Regions from separate parts of the Homo sapiens genome. Here region 2 is linked to region 1. The links are contacts of gene promoters, found by promoter capture Hi-C in blood cells and fetal thymus (Javierre and others, 2016). All regions are on one chromosome and are shown on one strand. Each heading gives the region's core, a stretch centred on a gene start or on the middle of the fragment in contact. The rest is flanking DNA. Distances are from core to core; before and after follow the strand shown. Region 1 holds the start of FICD (FIC domain protein adenylyltransferase). Region 2 has its middle 13 kb from the start of USP30.

Region 1 (3,201 bases), core at 438-2,937:
TTGCTGAATGTGATTCAGTTTGCAAGGGGCAGAACTGGGATTTGAACCCAGGTCTGTGTGACTCCCAACAGTGACACCCCACAACCACCACCTAGCCCTGCCTCCAAGAGCAATACACGTCACAGAGGAGGTCAGATCTTGAAGCATCAAGCCTTCTGCAAATCCTGAACTGGATGCCAAAAGCAAGGTAGGCTGTTTGTCCCCATTTTACAAGTGGGGAAAGTGAGGCTAGGAGTAACGTGCCCAAGGTGACACGGAGAGTAAATGGCAAAGTCTGAATTTGAGCTCAGGTCTCTTTGACTCCCCAGAATCTGAACTGCTAACTTCTAAATGCTTAGCGTTTCTGGGGCACCTCCCTAGATGTTTAATTTCAGTATTTGTGGATTAAGATGGAGGTTTCCATTCTCTGCTTCAAGGAAAAAATTTCTCTCTGGGAAGCCAAAAGAACTAGCCAGGTCCTTCTGGAGAGGATACAAATTAAAAAGTCAGGGAGAACCGAGGGGGTGGCTTGCGCCTGTAATCTTAGCGCTTTGGGAAGCCGAGATGGAGGGAGAGCTTAAGGTCAAGAGTTCGAGACCAGCCCGGGCGACATAGTGAGACCCGGTCTCTAAAGAAAATAAAAAATCAGAAATAGGTCGGGCGCGATGGCTCACGCCTGTAATCCCAGCACTTTGGGAGGCCGAGGCAGGCGAATCTTCTGAGGTCAGGAGTTCGAGACCAGCCTGGCCAACGTGGTGAAACCCCATCTCTACTAAAAATACACAAATTAGGCGGGCGTGGTGATGCGCGCCTGTAATCCCAGCTACTCGGGAGGCTGAGGCAGGAGAATCGCTTCAACCTGGGAGGCGGAGGTTGCAGTGGGCCAAGATCGTGCCACTTCCCTCCAGCCTGGGCAACAGAGTGCGATTCCGTCTCAAAAAAAAAGAAAGAAAGCAAGACAGAGAGAGAGAAAAAAAAAGAAAGAAAGAAAGAAAAGAAAAGAAAAGAAAATTCGCCGGGCATGGTGGCATGCACCTGTAGTCCCAGCTACTCGGGAGGCTGAGATGGGAGGATTGCTTGAGCCCAGGAGGTGGAGGCTGCAGTGAGCTGCAATTGCTCCACCGCACTCCAGCCTGGGCGACACAACGAGACCCTGTATTTTATAAGAAAAAAAAAAGTTGTTTAAGTCAGGGAGGAAAAGACACAGAGAGGAAAAGAGTAAAGAAGAAGAAGGCGGCAAACTCAGCAGCATGGGGTGGAGGCTAAGAACAGGGGCTGCGCAGTCAAGCAGGCTAACCGGGTGAAGGGGTGAAAAGCATCAGCATCTTCATTTCACAACCGGGAAAAATGAGGCACACGACAGCGGCTCCGGGACGAAGAGACCCGAGGAAAAGACCGCCGTGGAACTTCCAGTTTCCGGGCCCGCCACCTAGTGTGCCCCAAATCCGCACGCCCATCGGGTTTCCAGCACCTGCTCCTCCTGCCTGTGGCCTAGGCCCCGCCCCTCCCGCTGCTTATTGGCTGCTACGTGAACGAGACAAACGCAAGCAACAACCAATGGGAGTGGCCCACGGCGCGTCTTTCCCGGGGAAGCCGACGCGGACGCGGGAACCCGGAAATGCGAGGGAAGGACAAGTGGGGAAAGCCAATCCGCCGCGACGAGGGCTGCGGGCGGTTCAATGGCAAGTCGCCGGGGGCGGGGCCAGAGGCCGGCGGAGAAGGAGGACCCGGGAGCCGGCGGCCCGGAGCTGGGAGCGCGGGGAAGGCGGTTGGGGTTCTGACAGCTGCGCGCGGTGAGAAGGGGAAAAGCCCTAGGGGCTCGAGAGGATGAAGCCGGGAAGGGTGCGACGGGGCCGCGAGCCCTGGGCGGGGTTCGGGAAGGGAGGCTCTGCAGTCTTGGAGGGGACTCAGACCGGTCCCCTCCCCTCTCCGGGCCTCAGTTCTCCCTTTCTAGGGAAGTGTGGGGGAGAGATTCGCGCCTCCCAGAACGCACTCCTTCCCTGCACACACCCCTGGCACCGGCGAACTGCCCCCTTTCCTGTACCGCCCCGCCCAGGAGCCTGTCCCCTCGGGAAGCCCGCCCAGACCCCTGGACCCGCGCAGCACTCCAGGCGCACCCCTATTAAAGCGCACCCCAAGCCATTTCACATGTTCTGTGGCAATGGGCCAGGATCCCCATGAGACTCAGAACCCCGTGATCCATCAGTCATTCCCGGGTCAGGACCAGCCCAGAGCAGGTGCACAGGCCCTGCTTAGTAATAAGGTAGAAATCGAGACCTGGGGACCGGGTTCAGAGGCCCTGGGGTTTCCTTCCGGATGCCTCTGTTTACCTCCTGTGGGCCTTCTGGAATTTAACTTATGCTCTCTGTGTCTTGGTTTCCCTTGTCTGTAAAATGGAGCTAGCGGTAGCTCTTCCTTCATAGGGTGGCATGAGGGTGAAACGAGGCAATGCGTGGCCAGTACACTGCTCAGCACCTAGGACACCATAGTTGCTTAATAAGTGCTTATTGTTAGCATAGTGTTTGCATGCCTGGCCCCACCTCCACTCCCACTGCCAGCCCCAAGCACATACAAGCCATGTTGTCACTGAGGCCAAGCACTGTGGCCCACAGCCTGAGTTCCTTTCGAGATGCTCGAACTGCTCATCTTCTTGATGGGGTCCCTTCTGGACAGGCCAGAAATGGAAGGCCAGAGAGGGGAAGGGCACTGTGGGAGCTGTGGCTGAATATCAGGGTGAGGGCAATAAATGAGGCCACCCAACAATTGTGCTTATCAAAGATTGGGCGTCAGAACTGCTGTGGCTGATCTGCCTGGGTGTCTGTCAGTCATTTATGTCCCAAATGTTTGACATATGTCCACAAATCCAGTGTTTGTGGTCAGAAGCCACAGGGATATATGGGAAGGGGGGACACTTTAGAGCCGTGGGGTTCCTGAGTTCAAGTCCTAAGGCTGTCACTTGCTCCCGGCGAGACTTTCGGCAAGGGACTTCACCTCTCTGAACCTCAGTTCCCTCACCTGGAGAAGGGTGAAAACATCAGCTCAAGTCGTTGAAGATTGCAGGAGGTGACCCATGTGAGGCATTTGGTGCTTAGCACACGGCCTGGATTATGGCAAGTGCTCATTAATTGTTGGACCACAGCAGTGTTTTCACATTCATACTGCCCAGGAGGTGGCACCAGTCCTTCTAGGCTGGCCCCTCCTCTAGTGAGATCCAGTCCTTGA
Region 2 (3,201 bases), core at 403-2,902, 520 kb after region 1:
AACTGCCTGGAACCAGTAAATCTTCCAGTCTTTGCCAAGGAGTGCCGTGTGTGTTGGGGTACACCTTCAACACTCAGCCTGTCAGCTGAAAACTCTGCCTTAGGCTTCACTTCCTGCTTGTGTCAAACATCAAGGTCAGCCAGATGTGAGAACTTAGGGCCTTCTCAGGTTTACCCTGAGCATGTAGAGAGTGCTGCACATGTGTATGTCCTTCTAGATACTCAGAATTACATCTGAATTTTTCAAAGCCCCTGAATATCTGATTCCTCAGATTTTCTTTTTTTTTCTTCCACTTTTATTTTAAGTTCCCAGGTACATGTGCAGGATATGCAGGTTTGTTACATAGGTAAGTGTGCCATGGTGGTTTGCTGCACAGATCAACCTATCACCTAGGTATTTAGCCCAACATTCATGAGCTGTTATTTCTGATGCTCTCCCTCCCCCGACCCCTCCAAAGGCCCCAGTGTATGTTGGTTCCCGCCCCCCTCCCCACCTGCCAGTTTCCATGTGTTCTCACCATGCAGCTCCCAATTGTAAGCATGTAAATATGTGGTGTTTGATTTCTGTTCCTGGATCAGCTCCATCCATGTCTCTGTCAAGGACATAATCTCATTCATTTTTATGGTTGCATAGTATTCCATGGTGTATATGTACCACATTGTCTGTATCCAGTCTATCATTGATGAGCATTTGGGTTGAATCCATGTCATTGCTATTGTAAATAGCACACATTTTCCTTTTAAGCTTTTTTTCCCTTTTAAGCTTTTTGCTAGTCTATCTTTTTTTTGCTGCAATTGTTATTCATTTCTTCAGCAATGAATGCTATTTATTAAAATACTTACCTGCAATGTTTCAACAAACAGTCTGTGTGGGCTTATATTTCCCTTTCTCTTGGATAAATAAATACCTAGAAGAGGAATGGTTGGATCATTATGGTAAGTTTATGTTTCTCTTTATATGAATCTGCCAAATAGTTTTCCAAAGTATATTATTTTACATTCCTGCTAGCAACGTATGATATCCAGTTGCTCCAAATCCTCACCAACAAGTGATATTAATTTCTTTAATTTTAGCCATTCTAATGGGTGTGTGGTGGTATTATATAATGGTGTTAATTTTTGTATCCCTGATGACTAGTGATGTTGACCATCTTTTCATGTGCCTACTGATCATTCTCATATACTGTATTGTGAAGTATCTGTCCAGATATTTTGCCAGTTCAGAGGGAATTGTTTTTCTTCTTATTGAATTGCAAGAGTTCTTTACATATTCCGGATACAAGTCTTTGTTAGATATATGTATTATAAACATTTTGTGGCTTATCTTTTTGTTTTCTTAACAGTGTTTTTTGAAAAGAAAAATTTTAAAATTTTGATTAGATCCAATGTATCAGTTTTTTCTTTTCTAGTTTGTGCTTTTTGTGATCTATCTATGAAATCTTTGTCTACCCCAAGGTTGCAAAGATTTTTCTCCGTTTTCCTCAGAAAGTTTTACAGTTTTAACTTTCAATTGTAGATCTATAATTCATTTCAAGTTAATTTGCATGTCTTGTTACATTCTTTTACAATAGTGTACCTTCTATATTTTTATGTGTCTTATCCTATAGTTCTCTATGGTTTATTTTGGCCATAGAGGAATGTCATATCTTCCAAAAAGGTTTGGGTGGGAAGACAGGAGATAGGGCTTGTGTTCTAGTCATTTGACCTTAGATAAAGTTCCTACAATGCTCTCATCTGTAAAATGGCACTAATTATATCTTACCCTATCTGCTGCCCATGAATGTAGTGAGAATATAAGGAGATGATACAGAAGCCAGCATTTAGAACTGATCTAGTTCCCGAGAAAAAATGTGGGGTGCTGTAACTATTCTTATTACTAAGTGATAAGAATCCATTTTTTTTTTTGAGATGGAATCTCACCCTGTCACCAGGCTGTAGTTCAGTGGCACGATCTCAGCTCACTGCAACCTCCACCTCCCAGGTTCAAGCAATTCTTCTGCCTCAGCCTCCCAAATAGCTGGGACTACAGGTGCCCGCCACCACACCCAGTGAATTTTTGCATTTTTGGTAGAGATGTGGTTTCACCATGTTGGCCAGGATGATCTCGATCTCTTGACCTCATGATCTGCCTGCCTTGGCCTCCCAAAGTGCTGGGATTACAGGCGTGAACCACCACACCTGGCCAGCCATTTTCTTTCTTTCTCTATCTCAGTGTTTCACTAAGGATGGAATGTTTACCTCTGAATGTAATCAAGATGACTTGGGGTGATATATGATATAAATATTTATCACATTTTAATTATCATATGTAGATACTTATTTTCACATATATTAGAAAAATATTGTTTTTTTTCTACATGTGAAAACAGTTTTTATAAAGAACATTTAAAATATTTATGTGCCACAGGTTGATGAATAAAATAGTGAAGGTAAAGTCTACATATGGCAAACAAAAAAAAAATTTAGGGTGCTACCAAAATACCTGAAGTTTGGGGAAACTTTAGAGTTTAACTATTAAGGAAGTGATTAGAGAAACTATTAGGGAAGCTTGTCAAAATGCAGATTCTTAGGCATCACACTGCTATGTTCTGATCCACTTGACTGTGTTGGGGCCTGGAACCCACACTTTTAACAAGCAGCTCAAGAGATTTTGAGGTAGTTGGTATAAAGTCCACATTTTGAGGAACATTGCTCCTGCTATAGTAGTTCTCTACTGCTGCATAAGAAATTACCCCCAAAACTTAGCATCTTTAAAAAAATTAACAATTGTTATCCCACACAGTTTCTGTGAGTCAGGAATCCACCAAGAGCAGCTGAGTTGGCTGGCTATTGCTCAGGGCCTTTTATGAGGTTGTAGCCAGATGTTGGCTATGGCTGTGGTCTCATCTGAAGACTTGACTGGGGCTGGAGGATCCACTTTCAAGATGGTGCACTCACGTGATTGGCAAGTTGGTAATGGCTGTTGGCAGAAGGCCTCAGTTCCTTGCCACATGGACCTCTCCATAATGCTGCCTGGGCATCTTCACAACATGGTGACTGGCTTTTCCCAGAGCAAGTGTTTCAAGAAAAAGCAAAGTGGAAGCAACAATGTATTTTATGACCTGGCTTTGGAATTCACATAGCATCACTCTCACAATAGTTTTTTCAATGTGAGATGTGAATTCAGAACATGGGGGATCATTGGGGACATATCTTTGAGGCT

The links. The method cuts DNA at HindIII sites, captures the fragments that hold promoters and counts their contacts. A CHiCAGO score of 5 or more calls a contact.
Region 2: a fragment that was not itself captured here is called in contact with the fragment with the promoter of FICD in region 1 in 1 of 17 cell types (neutrophils); the score reaches 5.4 in neutrophils.

Annotation. Positions count from the first base shown.
Region 1 is chr12:108,513,590-108,516,790 of GRCh38, forward strand. FICD (FIC domain protein adenylyltransferase) reads left to right here and starts at 1,688. Exons shown (of 3, transcript NM_007076.3): 1 at 1,688-1,772. RefSeq lists enhancers at 1,160-1,219, 3,122-3,201. The HindIII fragment of the contact is 9,938 bases long and covers 1-3,201 here.
Region 2 is chr12:109,037,726-109,040,926 of GRCh38, forward strand. It overlaps a transcript of USP30 not described here. Among named protein-coding and RNA genes, the nearest start is that of USP30, 13 kb to the right of the region's middle. The HindIII fragment of the contact is 1,784 bases long and covers 761-2,544 here.